Linked DNA regions of Homo sapiens: region 2 is linked to region 1. Evidence: promoter capture Hi-C in human tissues and cell types (Jung and others, 2019). All regions are on one chromosome and are shown on one strand. Each heading gives the region's core, a stretch centred on a gene start or on the middle of the fragment in contact. The rest is flanking DNA. Distances are from core to core; before and after follow the strand shown.

What was found. The method cuts DNA at HindIII sites, captures the fragments that hold promoters and counts their contacts. A contact is called where the count stands out against the background at its distance.
Region 2: a fragment that was not itself captured here is called in contact with the fragment with the promoter of P2RX2 in region 1 in 1 of the 25 tissues and cell types used here (dorsolateral prefrontal cortex).

Annotation. Positions count from the first base shown.
Region 1 is chr12:132,615,820-132,620,345 of GRCh38, reverse strand. P2RX2 (purinergic receptor P2X 2) reads right to left here and starts at 1,570. Exons shown (of 11, transcript NM_170682.4): 1 at 1,357-1,570; 2 at 772-907; 3 at 596-667; 4 at 427-502; 5 at 250-346; 6 at 1-79. The coding sequence starts at 1,529. The HindIII fragment of the contact is 14,975 bases long and covers 1-3,973 here.
Region 2 is chr12:132,269,421-132,273,657 of GRCh38, reverse strand. The region is part of intron 2 of GALNT9 (polypeptide N-acetylgalactosaminyltransferase 9); the gene reads left to right. Among named protein-coding and RNA genes, the nearest start is that of GALNT9-AS1, 3.9 kb to the left of the region's middle. RefSeq lists an enhancer at 1-676. The HindIII fragment of the contact is 6,377 bases long and covers 1-4,237 here.

The DNA.
Region 1 (4,526 bases), core at 321-2,820:
GGAGAAGTGGAATTTGGGGTAGTGGATGCTGTTCTTGATGAGGATGGTGAAATTTGGGGCCATCGTACCCAGAAATTGGCTGAGGAGGCACAGAAGGGTTGTTTAGTCCCCTCTTCCCGCAAAGCCCCCGCCTGGCATTGGCCCCCACCCCTCCCCAGATCTTGTCACTCCTGCCCCGCCCGTTTGGCCTCTGGTCAGGGGAAAAGGATCAGAGGGGAGGCTGGGCCCCAGGCCGGGGCGCAGGTGCACCTGACAGAGGCCCCATCTTCCACCGGGCACCAGCCGAACACCTCGCAGGTCTTGGAGGGCCCCTGGTAATAGGGCACACAGCGCCCAGTCCTCAGGCCTGGGAGGCAGAGGTCACTGAGGCATTAGCGGGGACGCAGCCCTGCCCCACCCGCCCAGCCCCAGCTGGCGCACACCGACCGTTTCCCAGCATGTCCAGCTCCCCAGCCACGCAGTCGGCGTCGGAGAGGCAGGTGGCGTTGTGGACCCTTATGCTCTAGGGTGGAGGCGGCCCAGTCAGGGACCCCGCAAGGGACAGCTGGCCCGCCTAGCTGAGGCGGGGTCCCCCAGCGCCGCGGGATCCCCTCACCTCGGGGCAGGTTCCCTGGGTCTGGGAGTGGGTGGCCTCGACCCTGGTGATGATGCTGAACACGCTGCCCCCCTGGGCTCAGAAAGAGGGGGCGGTCGGCCAGGCGGCAGCCGCTGCCCCCTCCGCCCACTAGGGTAGGGTGCACGGCGGGGCGGGGGGCAGGGGGCGGCCCGCACCTCGGGGGGCTTCACGTACTCCTCCACGTCCCACACTTTGTGCTCGGACGTGGTGATCCCCTTGACCTTGGTGATGATGGAGCTCTCGGGGCCCGTCTCGCTCTCCTGGTAGCTTTTCTGCACGATGAATACGTACCTGCGGGCAGGGGCGGCGCCGGCTCCGGAGGCGACCCTGGGAAGGCTGAGTCCCGCCCGCAGGCACGGCAGGGGCCCTCCCGCGACCCGGGTCCGCTCTGCGGGGCTCTTGGGGCCTGCCCCGCGCCCTCGGTCCCAGCCCCAGCCCCTGCCCCGCGCCCCCGGTCCCAGCCCCAGCCCCTGCCCCGCGCCCCTGGTCCCAGCCCCAGCCCCGCGCCTCCAGCCCAGCACCCCGAGTCCCAGCCCCTGCCCCACGCCCCCAGTCCCAGCCCCTGCCCCGCGCCCCCAATCCCAGCCCCTGCCCCGCGCCCCCGGTCCCAGCCCCAGCCCCTGCCCCGCGCCCCCGGTCCCAGCCCCAGCCCCAGCCCCGCGCCTCCAGCCCAGCGCCCCCAATCCCAGCCCCTCCCCTGCGCCCCGCACCCCGCGCCCCGCACCCCGCGCCCCGCGCACCACACGAAGTAGAGCAGGATGAGCAGCTGCACGGCGCGGTACAGGACCCCCAGGCGCCGGTTCCTCACCACGATCACCTTGGGCGTCTCGTAGTCCCAGAGGGCGGACCAGCAGCCCCGGGCCAGGCGCCGGGCGGTCGCCCCGGCGGGGTACTTGGGCTGGGCGGCGGCCATGGCGCGGGCGGCCCCCACCTCCAGGAAGGCGCTGCAGGGCTGAGGGTCGGCCCCGCTGCGCACCGAGAGCGGGGGGCGCGCGGCGGGCGGGTAGCTCGCGGCTCCGCCTCCGGGGTGCGGCCTCGAGCCCGCCCCGCCTCGCCCCGGCCCCGCCCCGCCCCGCAGGTGTCCCGGGAGTCCCGGGTGTCCCAGGTGGGGCTGGGAGCGGGGCCTCGCGGGGACAGAGCCGGGGGCGCGGCAGCCCAGCCCCAGCTCTTGGTCCAGGTGGGGGCCGAGCGCGGAACCGGCGGTCTCGAAGTTGGAGGGTCGGGATTCCCCGGGTGGGAACTTTTTCCGAGCTCGAGGAGAAAGACATGGGAAGTCCCGCCGGCCTCCGCGGCGCCCCCCACCCCGTCCAGGCCGGTTCCTGCCGCGGCTGCCGGGGCTTCGAGCGCAACCTGCACTCCCGCCTTTGCCAGCAGACGCCTCGCTTCCAGCTCCTGCCTCCGCCGCAGCTCCAGCCCTCGAGCTGGAGAGGGATCCACGGCCGATCCGTTTTCTTCTTTGCAAGCCAGAGTTTTCTTTCTTTCTTTCTTTCTTTTTTTTTTTTTTTGGTAACTTTTCGAACCTCCACCCCACCCACATTATTTTGAAGCAAATCCCAAGCATCACAGTTTTTCACAAAATAATTTTAAAATAGTTTATTATGATAAAATCAGCATAGCATGTAATTAACTATTTTAAAGTAAACAATTCAGTGACATTCACAACATTGTGCAACCACCACCGCCTCTGTTTCGTCCCCAAACACTTTCCCCACCCCAAAATAAAACTCCCATCCATTAAGCAGTCACGACCCGTTCCACACTCCTCCCATGCCCTGGCAACCACTGGTCGCTTTTCTGTCTCAGTGAATGGACTTGCCTGTTCTGGATATTTCATATCAAGGAAATGCAATATTTGTTTCTGGGTTAATGCCTTTTCTGTCTGGCTTCATTCACTGAGCATGTTTTCAAGGTTCATCCACATTGTAGCATGTGTCAGGGCATCACCCCTTCTTATGGCCAGGAGAAATGTCTAGGCTATCCAAAGAAGGAATTTAGATTGCTTTCAAACTAACTCTGTGAATAGTGCTGTTATAAACACTGGTGCATAAGTATTTGTTTGAACTGTTAAATTAACTCAATTAACAGGCTGCCTCTGTGCCTTGAGTTTCTAGGTAACAACAAACTGCAACCTAATGTACCACAGAAACAAGCTAAAAGCTTAACCTATGAGTATATTTTGGAACAAATAGCTGGGTCTCAGCCAGTCACAGGCTGCTAACTGATCTGATCATGCCATATAAGGCAAACATTTCAAGCAGTAACAAAATCAAGCTAATTGTGATTTTTTTTTTTTTGTATCTCACTTCTGTGTTCTATCTATAAAAACTTCCTGCCCACATTACAGAGTGGAGCTCTCGAACCTCCCCCATTGGTTCTGAGTGCTGCCCAATTCATGAGTTGTGTTTTGCTCAATTAAACTCTGTTGGCTGGGCACAGTGGCTCATACCTGTAATCCCAGCACTTTGGGAGGCCAACATGGGTGGATCACTTGAGATCAGGGGTTCGAGACCAGCCTGGCCAACATGGCGAAACCTCGTCTCCACTAAAAACACAAAAGTTAGCCAGGTGTTGTGGCATCTGTAATCTCAGCTACTCGGGAGGCTGAGGCAGGAGAATCACTGGAATCTGGGAGGTGGAGGTTGCAGTGAACTGAGATTGCACCACTGCACTCCAGCCTGCATGACAGAGGGAGACTCTGTCACACACACACACACACACACACACACACACACACACACACACAAACTCTTAAATTTAATTTGTCCAAAGTTTTTGTTTTAACAGTTTGGTGTCAGAAGTGGGATCTGAAGTAGACCTCCAGCCACCCCCTAGGAGCACTGAATGCTCAGTAGGGCCTGTGTGCCTGCTGATCTCTCAAAGCATCTAGAGTCATAGGTGAGTTCTCTCTGCTGGATTTGTGCTCTATGACCATGTGTTTTGAGCCCTCTACTTTGAGCAATTCTTTTTTTTTTTGAGATGGAGTCTCACTCTGTTGCCCAGGCTGGAGTGCGGTGGCGTGATCTCAGCTCACTGCAACCTCCGCCTCCCAGATTCAAGCAATTATCCTGTCTCAGCCTCCCAAGTAGCTGGGATTACAGGCACATGCCACCGCGCCCGGCTAATTTTTTTGTATTTTAGTGGAGACGGGGTTTCACTGTGTTGCCTGGGCTGGTCTCAAACTCCTGAGCTCAGGCAATCCACCTGCCTTGGCCTCCCAAAGTGCTGGGATTACAGGCATGAGCCACGGCGCCCGGCCTTGAGCAATTCTTAGACCGGAATGGGTCCAGGATTGAATTGGATCCAAAACTTAACTCTATTGTATCCAGTTAGAGGCCTTGAGTAGGTCCCTTTTGGCTTGGGTTTGTCTGAATCCAAGGAGTCTGCGTGCCGCCTTCTGGGACGTTTGCTAATTATGTGTGTAAGAACTATGGACCCAGAACTTGTGCACATTTTAGAAAAATCGGCTAACCCCAAACTCAAAAAGACCCCTCCAGATTCTTGGAACCGTACACCTTTCGGAGACCTTAAGGTGAAGCTAACCAGGGAAGTTTTCCCCAGAAGCAGACGGGATCCTAAATGTGGACAGCTTTTCCAAGATCATGGGTTGAGACTTCTCTGCCATCATGACAGCCTTAGCCTCCCCCTGGCCCCTTATTTCCTGCTGTCTGAATCTTTTCCTTTTCATTACAGGAAAATCCACAGCACCATAATGTGTGGATGGCGTCAGCTAAGGCTTACGCTCTAGGAAAAACCCAGAGTGGTAGTTGGGTTTGTGGGTTAATGTCAAAAGCCAGGAAACTACATCAATCCCTGTCATTTTTCACGATGACGGTCACTCTGGAACTCCCAGGGGAGAGTGGAGAGCGTCCCCATGTGTCCCAGGGGAGACTGGAGAGTGTCCCCATGTGTC
Region 2 (4,237 bases), core at 600-3,099, 350 kb after region 1:
GAACCCTCGGGTTCCACTCAGGCTGAGTTATTCGGGGGCCACTGCTGAACGGTTTGCATTTGTTTCCTCTGTGACATCGGAGTGGGGAGGACGCTGCCTCCAGCACAGGGCCAGGGGCCAGGGCTGCTCACACAGAGCTGCTGGAGCCTACAGGGTCCCGGCTGTGGGTCCTGGGCTGCCCGCCCCCAGGAAGGGCACCTTGCCACCATTGAAGTGGGGCGAGCTGATTCGGGCACAGCTGGAAACCAGGAGGCAGCCAGCAGCAGCGGCCCTGAGCAAGAACAGGAACCCCAGGCCGAGGCGGGCGCATCACACGAGACCAGCCTGGCCAACATGGTGAAACCCCGTCTCTACTGAAAATACAAAAATTAGCCGGGCATGGTGGCACCCACCTGTAATCTCAGCTACTCGGGAGGGTGAGGCAGGAGAATTGCTTGAACCCGGGAGGTGGCGGTTGCAGTGAGCCGAGATTGTGCCACTGCACTCCGGCCTGGGCAACAGAGTAGGACTCTGTCTCAAAAATAAAGAAGAAAGAAAGAAGGAGAGTCCGGAAGCCACTGCTGCCCCCACCAGCAGAGTGGAACTGTGATTTCATAGAACAGACACAGCCTGGCAGCGAGAATGACCACAGTGCTCACAGCCACTCAGGTGGAATCTCAGGAACTCAATGTCAGGAGGAGGAGTGGGGCCCTAAGGCCCGTGTGCGGGAGACAGTGGCCATGGCGTCGAGCTCAAAGGTGAGCCGGGTGTGGCTGGGGATGGGAAGGCGTGGCGCAGAGCCACGGGGAAGGCACACGAGGTCCAGAGACGGCAGCCTGCGAAGTGGAGGGAGGGTGGACGCCGGGGTGATCACCCACTTTCCTAGACTGAGCGTTGGGCACAGGCTTTGTATTGCTTCATTCATCGTCATATTTGATGTATGTTTGATAAATATCCCTTTAAAAATTAAAGACAGTTTGTTAATTGAGAAGGGTACTGTATTATGGGTAAAAGAAATTATTTTATGCTAACTAGTGCTGGGTGAAAAATGAGGTGTATGTGTTCCATTATTTCCAATTTAAACAGCAGTTTGTCTACAAAGGTTTGTGATGAGTGTCAGGTGTTAGGTGCACATTAATGGCATGAAGTAAGAGCATTCTCCTGCGGAAAACACAGAAAAGTCCAGAAAGAATGTGCAAGCAACCTGCCCAGGCACTTCCACAGCTGCTGGGTGTCACGGGAAGCCGGGAACTAATTTAAGCGCCCGGCAGTAGGGTGGTGGCGCTGTGATATTTTCTTCTGCACAAGTTTGCTGCAGGGGCATCGTGGAGGGCCTGTGTGGAGCCACCGTCAGAATGCCAAGGAGCACCTGCCCTGACCCTGTCCCGCCCCGCACCATTGCCCACTCTGTCCCGTTGAGGGGGTGCTTCCCTGGGTCGTTGTGAGACCTGGGCCAGGCCCACAGGGTTCTGCTCGCTCGTAACAGAAGCCTGGGTCCCGTGATGAGCAGGCGTGGCCCACAGAGGGGTCCCCGCCGTGCATCTGTCCCCACGGTGCGTCCCCCGACCGCTCTGGGGCTGCTCTGAGTTGGGGGAGCCGGGCGGGGCGTGACGGCATTCTCCTCTCTCCTGTCTCCTCCTCCCCCCGCCCTCGAGCGCAGCCTCTGGCCCTGGCAGTGGCTGGTGACTGGAGTTTGGTCAGTTGGCAAACGTGTCCCCAAGGGTCAGAGACACACACAGTTCACGTGTGGCCGCCCTGCTGAGAACACGTGTGGCCCCACATGGCTGCTGCCGCAGTAACACACACAGCACTGAAGGGCGCACGGGGGACGGGCCCTCCTGGCAGCCACGGCCTCCCACGCGTGGGAGCCTCCCTGCACGTTCTGTGCGGGGCTCTGCTCGCCTTGGGGCCCTGGCCGTCGCTGGCCCTGTTGACTTGGGACCTCGGCCAAGCCTGAACCTGAAACAGCCTTCGGCAGGGTCCATTTACAGACCCCATGCCGGAGCATCACGGCAAGGCACGAGGCCACAGCTGCCCCAACGCCGTTTGTGTCTAAAAAGCAGGGCACAGCGCCAGGCCAGTGTTTTGTGGGCAGACCTGGAGGGACACTTGTCACACCCACGTCGGCGTCACCTCGGGGGACAGGGGCGGGGCCTGAGGGTGGGCGTCGGAGGGAGGCTTGGTGGATCTGTCCTGGCTTCATTGTTTTAAAGAGGACAATCTCTTAATTTTATGGTGTGATAAAATTGGTTCAAAATGGGATAAAGAAACCTGGAAGAAACACACAAGAAGGCAGATGTACAGGTGTGCGGGTGGGAGCGGCGGAGGCAGAGTGACGGGTGGGAGCCGGGCGGGGCGTGGCAGCGTTCTCCTCTCTCCTGTCTCCTCCTCCCCCCACCCTCGAGCCCTGGCAGTGACGGGTGACTGGAGTTTCGTCGGCTGGCAAACGTGTCCCCAAGGCTCAGAGACACACACAGGCTGTTCACGTGTGACCGCCCTGCTGAGAACGTGTGGCCCCACATGGCCACTGCTGCCGCAGTAACACACACGGCACTGAAGGGCGCATGGGGGACTGGCACAGAGTGACGGGCGCAGCGTCTGTCATGGAGAAGCAGCGGACGGCGGCAGCTGAGGCACCTGCTCTCCCCTCTGCTTGATTTTTAAGGACTGTGCTGCTGTTGTCTCGTTCTCTCTGCCCCTGTCTCCTCCTTCCCTCCTTTCTCCCCCTCGCTGTCTCTCTGCTCCATCTCCTCCTTGCTCTCTCTGAATCTCTGCCTCCTGTCTCCTCTCCCACTCCCCTTCCTCCCTGTGTGTGGCAATGACTGACCGTCATCTGCCTCTTATCTTTTCTCCCGCTCTTCCTCCCTGATAGAATTCTGAAATGTATCTGGGCTCCAGCCAGAGTGAAGACCACATTTCCTGGCATCCCTTGCAGGGTGTCGTGGCTGTGGCTGTGGCCGTGGCCGTGTCCGTGGCTGTGGCTGTGGCCATGGCTGTGGCTGTGTGGTCGGGCTCTGGCCGGGAGATGACGGCCGACAGCTCCACCTGGGACCTCAGACACATCCAATCCATTTCTTCTTAAAGAAAGAATTGAAGTCAATTGAAGTCAAATTGAGTTCCTATTGATTACAGTCGTAGACTCAGAACCATTATGTACGCAAGAGCTAACGCGTGAAGCCAGCTGTTCTCAGGGGCTCCTGTCCCTGGGGTTTTATCTCCAGGTGGCACCTGGCAGGGCACAGAGGTGGCATCACCTGCTGGGTACTCCAGGCCCCAGCTCTCTGGTTTGCCCCTGGGCAGGGCTCTGTGAAGCCTGCAGGATTCTGTGCCGGCCTTTGCCTTCTGGAGGAGGTTCCTGGTGATCGTATTTCAGGGAGACACGGGGCTATTTCAGGGAGACACGGGGCCTCTGTGACAACTTCTGTTTCTCACACCCAGGATCAGAGGTGCTCACTGTTGCCAAGCTCAGTGGTTATTGATTCCATAGTTTACAACTGTCTTGGCCACAGTCAATGGACTGTTTTACAAAAGATGTCTGTTCAGCACTATATCCTATAATAGGTGTGACCCTGTTTCATTTCTCGGCCCTAAATGGGACTTGTTCTTGTTGGAATAACTAAACAAGAGCAGTCTCAGGAGCAGTTTTCTTTGAAGAGTTTCTTCCAGAGCGTGGCTCCTGAGACAGAGCTGGAGACCGAAGTCACCTGGGGGTGCCCTCAGTGAGAGGGTCCGTCTGTGCTGTTCAGGCCTCAAAGCTGTTTGTAGAACAGGCTGGGCCTAAGTTATCTGGGAAACTGGCTGATCCCGTGCGCCCATCTCCCTCGCCTGTGTGTGCTGCAGGCAAAGGCCAGGCCTGCATAGCTGGTTAGACACGGGAAAGTGAGCGGCCAGGACAGGGTCCCAGCAGGCGCCACGTGCCACCCCACCGGGATCCGGCCCCACGCGTCTGAGACCTGCCCCAGGTACGCGTTCCCAGCGGCGTCTATTTCACGATTCCGCCCTCGGCCCCGAATCCATGGAGCCAAATTCCTGCTTTCTTCACGGTCACTTCTGGTATTTGAGCTGAAACCATGTCTGACCATGGGCCCAGCTTCCTATGCCCCACCCTCCTGCTCGGAGCAGCACCTGCCCCAGGAAAAGGCCACCCCGCCCTGGGCTCGGGACCGGCACGGGCTCCTCCCTGACGCCCCTCCACCTTCTCTTGCTTTTTCCAGCAGCACCAGACGCAAATGGGACTCCGTGGCTCCCGCCCGGAGGA